Linked DNA regions of Homo sapiens: region 2 is linked to region 1. The links are contacts of gene promoters, found by promoter capture Hi-C in blood cells and fetal thymus (Javierre and others, 2016). All regions are on one chromosome and are shown on one strand. Each heading gives the region's core, a stretch centred on a gene start or on the middle of the fragment in contact. The rest is flanking DNA. Distances are from core to core; before and after follow the strand shown. Region 1 holds the start of CNIH3 (cornichon family AMPA receptor auxiliary protein 3). Region 2 has its middle 72 kb from the start of DNAH14.

Region 1 (4,979 bases), core at 1,150-3,649:
GCCTAGGCTGGAGTGCAGTGGTATGAACACAGCTCACTGCACCCTTGACCTCCTGGGCTCAAGCAACACTCTCACCTTAGCCCTGCAAGAAGCTGGGACTACAGGTGCATGCCACCACACCCGGCTAATTTTTGTATTTTTTGTAGAGATGGGGTTTCTGCCATGTTGTCCAGGCTGGTCTCAAATACCTAAGCTCAGGTGATCTGCCCACCTCGACCTCCCCAAGTACTGGGATTACAGGCATAAACCACCATGCCTGGCCAGGTATTTCTTTATAGCAATGCAAGAACGGCCTAATACAAAGTCCCACATTTTCATTTTGCACTTGGCCCTCCAAAGTATGTAGCCGGTCCTGACCCAGAGGCAATAAAATGTAGATCGGTTCATTGCTCTGGTCATCAGCCTCTGGATTTGCTCTAATTTCTCCACTTCTCACTGAAAGGCATCTAGTTTCTAAACTGGAGGGAGATATGAGGCCAGGCACTGTGGTGCACACCTATAATCCCAGCGCTTTGGGAGGCCAAGGCTGGAAGACTGCTTGAGGCCAGGAGTTTGGGACCAGCCTGGCCATATATTGAGACCTATGTCTGCAAACAAAACAAAACAAAAATTATCTGGGTGTGGTGGTGCATGCCTGTAGTCCTAGCAAGGAGTTTGAGGCTACAGTGAGCTATGATAGCACCACTGCACTCCAGCCTGGGCAACACAGCAAGACTGTCTTCAAAAAAATAAAATAAAATAAATTGAAGGGCCTGGAGCGGTGGCTCACGCCTGTAATCCCAGCACTTTGGGAGGCCGAGGTGGGTAGATCACGAGGTCAAGAGATCGAGACCATCTTGGCCAACATGGTGAAACCCCGTCTTTACTAAAAATACAAAGATTAGCTGGGCGTGGTGGTGCGTGCCTGTAGTCCCAGCTACTCGGGAGGCTAAGGCAGGAGAATCGCTTGAACCAGGGAGGTGGAGGTTGCAGAGATCACGCCACTGCACTCCAGCCTGGCGACAAAGTGAGACTCCGTCAAATAAATAAATAAATAAATAAATAAATAAATAAATAAATAAGTAAAAGATGTGGCCAAATAGCTGCAGGAATGTTGGGGCATAGTAGAAAGAGCCCAGGATTAGGAGTCCGCAGACAGGATTCCAGTTCTGTCACTAGAAAGCTGTATCTCTATCTTGCTGGAATTCATCCCTTCCAGCTCTCAAGGCATTGGAATCACATCTGTGAACAGGAAAACTAGCACACCAGAGTCAGAATCAAGCAATAGTTATTTATCTAGTTCCCACCCTGTGCAAGGTACCAGGTGCTCTAAGATTCACTCCAATCCATGAAGTGCGTCTACTCTTTCACCGAGATTTGCCAGTCGTCTTTCAGGGTATTTTTCCTTGCTTTCTGGATTTGATGACTTGTCTGAAACTGAAGTTCTCTCTGGAATGACTGGACCTCTTTCACTGCAGCGTCAGGAATCTCTTGCAAAGCAAGCATGGTGAACTTCCAAGATGCTGGGCCACTGGGGGAAAGGGTGCAATTAATAATCCCTACCACTTATTGAACGTATACCAAGTGCTAGGTTTTTTACTTATGTTCCCTTTTAATCCTTTGAAATGGCTTGACTCTACTCTTATTTATGTTTTTCTGATAAGGAAACTAAGGATTAAAGAGGTTAGGTAACTTGCAGCTAGAAAACGGTCTACCTTCAAAAGCATCCTCTTGACAATTCCACTAGGACCAACACCAATACCACCGAGCCCTCGTTGCTGCCTCTTCAGCGCAGAATAGCCCACCAAGTCCACGTTTCCCTAGTCCCAAGGTCGGATGGCTGGGGAGGGTAGAGGATGCAACGGAAGGACGTTAATGGAGAATTTTGCAGGGTCTGGGAGCAGAGCAGTAAACGCAGCCCTAAGCACTGAGTATGCTACAGTTTGGTAAAATCCATCCAAGCAGCTTTGGGATCCAAGGCTTGCACTGTATCCCCAACCAACACTAGGCAACGCCCCAAGTCCCCACACTTCCCACTCCGATAGGCGAAACTGCAAGAACCGGGAGGGGCGGCTGCGGCGTTTAGGCGCGAGGCACACACCATACCCTTCCGCAGCTTCCCACCTCCTCCAGACGCACGTGTTTAAAGAGTCCCTGCTCCAACCGGTCCCGCCCCACCTCCGCTCGGCCTCCAGCCCTGCTTGTACTGCTGGCTTCAAGTTTCCTCCGAGAGGCGGGCGTGCACAGCTGCAGTGGCGGCGGCAGCGGCCACCAAGCGCCCGGCGGCGCTTCGCCACCCACCTTTCCTCAGCCCCCGGCGCTGCAGTCTCCGCCCGCCGGGGAGGGCGCGCTCAGCGGAACAGGAGTCGAGGGTGGGGCGCCGAGAGGAGGGAATCCCGGGTCGCACCGCTACAGTTCTCGCAGTGGCAAAGGCGGCGGCGGCGGCGGCGGCAGCGGCAGCAGCAGGTGGAGCGAGCTACAGCGTTTGGCCTGAAACCCACTGCTGCAGCCACCCGGGCTGGAGTTGGCCCGTTGGGTGGAGCCAGTGCTCGCCCCGGTCCGACCCCCGGTTTCCGGGACACTTGGGTTGCGGAGGCCGGCTGGCCGGAGTCACGGTTGGGGACGGGCGCGCCTCGGAGCGCACGGCTGCGCTGGAAGCCGCGTCTGGGGCGCAGGACCAACGGGACCTACCTCCTCCCGGCTACCTAAAGACTCCTTCTCTCGGGAAAGAGCGCTGCCCGGCTCTGGGATTTGGGAGGAGCTCGGAGGCCGCTCGGGCACCTCGCTGGACACTATCCGTTTGCGCCCCGGTGGCGCGGGAGGGTCCGGAGCGGAGCGCTCGTCTCTCCTCAGCGGTTTAGTGGAGAAAAGCAGAGAGCTCTTCCTGGGGCGAATGGGACCTCCTCCCTCGGTCCTCCGTGGAGTCGTCGCATCGCTTGTCGTGTTGGTCTCGAGGGGCTCACAGCTTGGCACTAATTTGCAGGTGTTCGCTGCTGATTTGGTTTCTTCTTCGATTTGCGGACGGTTCCCTCCAGCGACTCTCGACACACGTTTTCCTGTCTTCGCCGGAGGGCCGGGTCTGGGGTCGCCGGAGCCTGCGGGAATCCAGCGCTTATTCGCTGACCCTCGAGTCGCTTCGCTAGCTGTGCGCCCTCCTGGGCACTAGCCTGGAGAGGAGCGTGCAGACGCGGCTCCTTGGAGGGAGTGCGGTCCTCTAGGGAGGCATCGGGCTCCTAGGGGCTTCTTGGCGTGTGTGGTGGGATTGGGGTCCGCCGGCCATGGCCTTCACTTTCGCTGCGTTCTGCTACATGCTGTCTCTGGTGCTGTGCGCTGCGCTCATCTTCTTCGCCATCTGGCACGTGAGTAACACGCTTTGGTCTCTCTTCTTTCGCCCCAATTTCGCTAAATTTCCCCGATTTCACCCCACTTTTTCCACCTTGCGGGCGTGGGCGAACCGGAAGGTTGGACCTTCTGCCGCTCCACTGTCCCGGGGCAGGAGGCAGTTCGCTGCATCCCGCCGGGCGCGCCTTCGGTGCCCTGGCTGGAGGCGAGGGGCCGCTGGTGCCCAGGTAGGACACCCTCTGCAGGGCCCGACTGGGCGTCCCGGGTCCCGGGCGCCGGGGAGTGGCGGCTACAACCACAACTAACCCCTTCCTCTCCCGCCCCGTCCTCTCCTGCCGGCGGGAGGCGAAGGAGAAGCGCCGCCGTCGGTCCCGGCAATTAGTCAAGTAGCTATAATAACTAAACATTTAAAATGTCAGCATCTGTGGTGGGTTGCATTTAGATATAATTGGAGACAAAGTGGAAACACGACGGGAGCGCCTTGTAAGAGGTAGGGAGAAGCCGAGCCCACGGAGAGGAAGGAGACCAGGCGATGGGGGTCGAAGTGGAAGGCGGTGGGGGAAAGGCGAGAAGGAGAAGAGCAAGGAGGCGAGGGAGACTGGGAAGGGCAGGCATCATTAAGGCCATGGAGGAAAGTCACGAAGAGAGACCGTGGAGAGCGACGACGGTGTCCTCCATCTGCCCTCTTGGCGTCTGAAGTCCGACTCCTGAAGACCCCCTGCAGGTGGCGAACCTCCGCTAGGCCCCCAGCGTCCCCAGCCCACACAAGCTTCCTGTCACCCTTCCCGGGGCTACGCCAGGTGGAGGGCAGCCGTGGATCCCAGTTCTTTAGGTGTGGGTGGGAATAGAGGAGCGCAAGCTTCTGAATAGGGGAAGAGAAGTACTGAGAGAGCGCGCAGGAGTGCGTACGCCGGTCCTCTCAAAGACTGTGCAACATTTAGCGAGTGCATGCAACTCTCAAGGCTTCCTTCTCTGAGGTTGTTTAAGCCCCCTATCCTCACCCTCAGAGGGCTGGTGGGAAGAATGGCCAAGGCCAAATGTTTAGAAGGAGCACCCCAGTGCATAATTTCCCACCTTTAACAGCCTTGCCCTGCCCAGCGTCTAGGTGACAGAGAAGGACCCTGAGACGAATTCTTGGAGGCATGGTTCTGGTGAGCATCACAGACTCTCATACAGTGGGGATGACCCAAAATGAAGACGTGGAGAAAATTGCAGGGTGGGTGAGATGCCCTTGTTTTCTATAAGTGGTTTGCAGAGTGAGAGTTTGTCTTAAAATAGAACTAAGCAGCTAGAGCAGCTCCTGCTACAGGGCTCTGACAGAGAGGAGAGGGGAAACTCGGGGAGGAAGGTGGCTTCCGATCATGTAACCTTAGGAAAGACCCTTGCTGGCTTCCTTCCACATCTCTAAAGTGAGAAAATTGACCTGGATAGTCGCTAAGCTTTCCCCCATTTCTCAGATTGTGTAAATCCGTGCATCAGTAGACTTAGGAATCTGGGGGTGACAGGGAATCCAAACATAGATATTTGGGGGATGATTAAAACAATTCCGCTATTTAGAAGTAATGGGATTTTAAACCCTCCCTTCTCTGCTCTGCAAGGCTGGGTCTAATCTATAGTAGAAAATTGAGGCTTGAAGTTGTTGACAGTTCTTAAGGGAA
Region 2 (4,979 bases), core at 1,266-3,765, 240 kb after region 1:
TTATTCACGGGTTACCCTTGAAGAGTTGCAAGGATTTGATGAAATAATGCATGTCAGAGACCCAGAATGGTGGCTGACACGAGTACAGTGCCTAACCTAGTCAGTGAATAAATGTGGCTGCTATTACTGTATAGGGCAGAGGGTTAAGCCCTATGGGTTACAGAATAATGCACAGTCTCTCTGTTCAAAGAGTTTACATTCTGGGGAAAGGTAGATGAAATGTGTATATGTATAACTTGCGCTGTCAGTTTTTGATGTAGGCTATTTATTTACCAAGGCTTTACTGATTTCTTTGTAGACAAAGTGGATAATTGGCACTTTGGGAGGCCAAGGCGGGCAGATAGATCACAAGGTCAGGAGATCAAGACCATCCTGGCTAACATGGTGAAACCCTGTCTCTACTAAAAATACAAAAAGTTAGCTGGGCGTGGTGGCAGGCACCTATAGTCCCAGCTACTTGGAAGGCTGAGGCAGGAGAATCACTTGAACCCAGGAGGCGGAGGTTGCAGTGAGCTGAGATCGCACCACTGCACTCCAGCCTGGGCGACAGAGAAAGACTCCGTCTCCAAAAAAAAAAAAAAAAGGTGAATAATTAGCATTGGGTGTCCATTTTCTCAGGCGAATTTGTAGCTGAATGAAAGACTAAACCCAAATAAACTTTAATTAATAGGTTTGATGCAAGAGACAGAATTAAGCAAAAATGATCCTGGGAACTTACCCTAAGTTGTTTGAACAACAAGCCAGCTGGGATTTGGGGCATCCCTTTCTCTAGTAGGGTGTCCCCATGGCATCCTCCCTGGAGCAGATGGGACTGCAACATCCCATGGGCCTTAGGGTCTCCAGGCACTGGCATCTTGCTTTCCCCCAGGAAGCTCCTGAGAACAGCTGGCACCCAAATCCAGACTGCCCAGTGCCCAATAAGTTTGTTCTCAGACTTGCCCCAAAAGAATAGAAAGCAGCTGAGGGCCAGGTCCCTCCCCTGGAACAACCTCCATGGTGAAGTCAGCTGTAATGCCCTGGCACCACCCACCTCTCATGAGGATAGTGGGAGAGAGGGAGCCCTGCCTTCCCTTGTTAACTCTCATTTTGTACGTTTGCTTCATTTTCTAGTAAAGTCCATTTCTTCCCCAGTCTATGTTATGTTGTGAAATTCAACCAAGCCTTAGTACATGACTCTGAAGGAATCTGCCTCAGATGAAAATGGGTTAGTTTTAACTGGAGAGGCAATTTCTTACAGCCTACCACGAGCTTTGTCCATCACAATGCTCTGCTAAGTGATTCAGCTTGGATAAAGATTTGGAAGGCAAGCTGCTCAGACCTGTAGGGGATATGAAGCTAGGACAGTGTGAATGGAGAAACCCCTGGAGGGCCAAGTCAAAATACTAAAAGAGCTCAATAAGATCTTTTTAAAATGCTGGGCCCATACATTAAAGAGAAAATATCACAAGATCAAATTAATTTGGGTTAAAAACATTATAAAGTACAAAATGGATGATATGATTTGGCTCTGTGTGCCCACCCAAATCTCACCTTGAATTGTAATAATCTCTACGTGTCAAGAACGGGACCAGGTGGAGATAATTGAATCATGGGGGCAATTCACCGATATTATTCTCATGATAGTGAGTCAGTTCTCACAGGATCTGATGGTTTTATAAGGGGCTTCCCCCTTCACTTGTCTCTCACTTCTCTTGTCTGCTACCATGTAAGATGTGCCTGTTTTGTCTTCCGCCATGACTGTAAGTTTCCTGAGGCCTCCCTAGCCAAGCACGACTGTGAGTCAATTAAACTTCTTTTCTTTATAAATTATTCAGTCTCAGTTATGTCTTCAAAGCAGCATGAAAATGGACTAATACAAGAACTTATCTTAATAGCAATTCTTATGAAAAATATCTGAAAGTTTAGTAGACCCAAGTTCCATATGAACCAGTAATATTATGTGGTTGACAAAAAAGCTGACTCAGCCTCCGGTGATGGAAATAAGAGAGACAGAGTTAGTTCCCCCAAGTTCTCCACTGGCTGGGTCAGATCTGGACCCAGTGACAACTTGATCAACATTCTGGGGAGTGCAAAAAGAATGTTGTAGGGTTTTATGGGGAAAGATTTAAAGAGCTGGAGAAATTTAGCTTGAAAAAGGCAGAACTTCACTATCACCAAACAGCTTTCTTAAAATATTTGAAGGGCTGTTATTCAATTGCCCAATAAAAAAATCCACTGTCACACTGAAGGAAAAATGTAGATTTGTTTTCAGTATGGTTTCATGGAACAGAACAAGTACAAATTGGTAAAAGTCATAGGAAAACAATCACCAGAGCCAAAACCAAACCAAAACAAAAGCTTTTAGACATTTATTGCTCCAAAAATGTGACAAGCTGATTCACAGAGAAGTGCCCTCCTTAGTGCTAAGCCTGGGGGATGGCCATCATAAGAGAGAGTCTGGAGAGGTCTTTGAGCTGTACCAAAAGGGAGACTGTAAGTCACCAACCCAATGTACATTCTGCCCTTCTTCAGTACAAAATCCTCATTTTATATGGGGCATCAATGTGCCTGGCCAAAAACCAGTGCCTTATTGCTAGGTGTGGCCACATATCTAAGTTCAGGACAAACAGTTATAAATGAAAGGGTTTTGTGGGAGGGCTCATTAAAGAGGGATTAGCAGGGAGGTACACTTTTGTGCTCTTCCTCTTTTATAAAAAGCTTAGAGTATGGATGTTATGGCTGGTGCACCAGCAGCCATCTTGGACCATGATGTAACTGTGAGGATAGAAACCTTACTCAGGATGGTGGAGCAGAAAGACGAAGCTGAGTATCTAATGATGATAGAGCTGCCATTCTGTACATATTTTGGGGGGTATTTACTGTTTTCCAAGTAGTGTTCTAGGCACTTGGTGAACAAAACAGTGTCTGCTTTCACAGACCTTACACTTGTGAGGAAGGCAGAGCTCTTGCTGCATTATTCAAACTCTGGAGATAGGGAGCATTATCCTAGAATGCAATGATGGCCTCTGAAGTTATGCAAAGAGTGGTCCTCAGGGGAGCTTTCCTCATAGTAGTACACATATTTATTTATTTATTTTTTGAGACAGAATCTCACACTGTTGCCCAGGCTGGAGTGCAATGGCACAATCTCGGCTCACTGCAACCTCCGCCTCCTAGGTTCAAGCGATTCTCCTGCCTCAGCCTCCCGAGTGGCTGGGATTACAGGTGTCTGCCACCATGCCTGGCTAATTTTTTGTATTTTTAGTAGAGATGGGGTTTCACTATATTGGCCAGGCTGGTCTTGAACTTCTAACCTCATGATCTGCCTGCCTCGGCTTCCCAAAGTGCTGAGATTACAGGTATGAGCACTTATAATCTTGACTAGATAGATGAGAACATTGAGATTTACAGATATTATTTCCCCAGGTTACTCAAAGAGTGATCAGACTGAGATTCAAACCCAAGTGTGTTGGCTCCAACCTCACTTTTGTAACCACTTCTCTCAACTTGTTCAAAGGCAAGAGATGGGAGAAAGATAGGAAGACACTCAGAGAAATAAGGAGGAGAACCAGGAGAGTGCACATTTTAGAAGAAAAGGAGGAGAAGAGTTACAAGAAAGAGAGAGGTGAAGAGAAGGAAGGTGAGGACCAATAATGGGTGACAGGATTTGGAGAGTAGACATTAGTGACCTTCAAGAAAACAATTTTAGTAGAGAATCTTCCTGGCTTACTTTAATTCTTTAAACCTGAGTCTTTTTTTTCTCTCTCTCTGTAACAGGTTTACAAAATCTTTCATTTTTATCTATTATTGAGATTTATGTTAAAAATAGATTTCAGCAACTGTTTGGTAGTATAATTATTCCTATGACATCAGTAGTACATCCAGTACCAATTTTTTTTCAAGCTACCAAATGCCACCAAGAATTGCATATTGTACAGTGGCAGCAGCTGTTTTGCAGGCATTTAAGTATAGAACTGAGATGTTTTTCACAAAAAAACTTCTTGTATCCACATCCATGGACCTGAAAGGTGTTTGCACACCATATGCTTCATTTTCTTCAACTGTAGAGTAATAAATAACATTGTCAAAATCACTACTGAAAAGTATGTGCTCATTTTCTTGGGGGTGGAGGGAAGTGGAGTTCATGTTTCTAAAACTATTTCCTCATTTGAATTTATCTTCATCGCTCAGGAGAAAACTGTCCTTCTAATTGTCAAGGAACTGTAGTAGGTTGTAAACATCCCTGGAAATTCCAGTTTCGAATGATATTTCCTATAATGTCTTGAGTCTGAAGGATGAAATGGAAGGAGAGGCAAGGTAAGCCGCAAACTACCCACGACTCTTTTCTCACCCTATCGTCTCACATCCACCACCCTCATCACTGATTTCCTTCCCCTCTACATGCCCAGCCTAATCAATTAAAACAGCAAGTTTATTTTCATATTTACCATTGAGAATGAAGGCTCTTTAGCATAACAGGTGTTAGTTCCACAAAATATTTCTTGGAAGACAAAGACCACACTTGTTGGGGGTTTGATGAATAATTTGTAGGGCATGTTATTAACATGCCCTGTGCCCAGACAATGGTACATGAGTAACTGCAGAAGGAGATACTTGCTTTCCTCCTAAGAGCTCATGAAAGGGCTATGTCAATGTGCAGTGGGTGTGTGTAGCGGATGTGGGTGGGAAGATAAACTCTATCCTGATGAAGGGGCCCATGCCAATCTCCCGCTCAGACTGTGGTCACCTGCCATGATGGTGATTGATTTGGTGGGGTCTGGGTGGTTACAAATTAGTCAAACCCAGAGTGGAAAGTACTATTGAATTTAAGATGAAGTTGGTTTTTTCCTTCTTAATTGTGTTTCTTTTTGTCATTTCACCCCGCATGAATTTATCTTATTATATTAGGGTTCTCTAGAGGGACAGAAGTAATAGGATAGATGTATATATAAAGCAGAATTTATTAAGGAGTGTTGACTCACATGATCACAAGGTGTGGT

What was found. Contacts are between HindIII fragments. The CHiCAGO score rates a contact against its expected background, and 5 or more counts as called.
Region 2: a fragment that was not itself captured here is called in contact with the fragment with the promoter of CNIH3 in region 1 in 3 of 17 cell types (M0 macrophages, M2 macrophages and M1 macrophages); the score reaches 7.7 in M0 macrophages.

Annotation. Positions count from the first base shown.
Region 1 is chr1:224,613,918-224,618,896 of GRCh38, forward strand. It overlaps CNIH3 (cornichon family AMPA receptor auxiliary protein 3), which reads left to right and starts at 2,400. Exons shown (of 6, transcript NM_152495.2): 1 at 2,400-3,338. The coding sequence starts at 3,258. It overlaps CNIH3-AS2 (CNIH3 antisense RNA 2), which reads right to left and starts at 2,310. Exons shown (of 4, transcript NR_183287.1): 1 at 2,281-2,310; 2 at 1,695-1,819; 3 at 1,287-1,510. The HindIII fragment of the contact is 4,503 bases long and covers 1-4,088 here.
Region 2 is chr1:224,855,214-224,860,192 of GRCh38, forward strand. No RefSeq gene overlaps it. Among named protein-coding and RNA genes, the nearest start is that of DNAH14, 72 kb to the right of the region's middle. RefSeq lists an enhancer at 4,007-4,979. The HindIII fragment of the contact is 360 bases long and covers 2,336-2,695 here.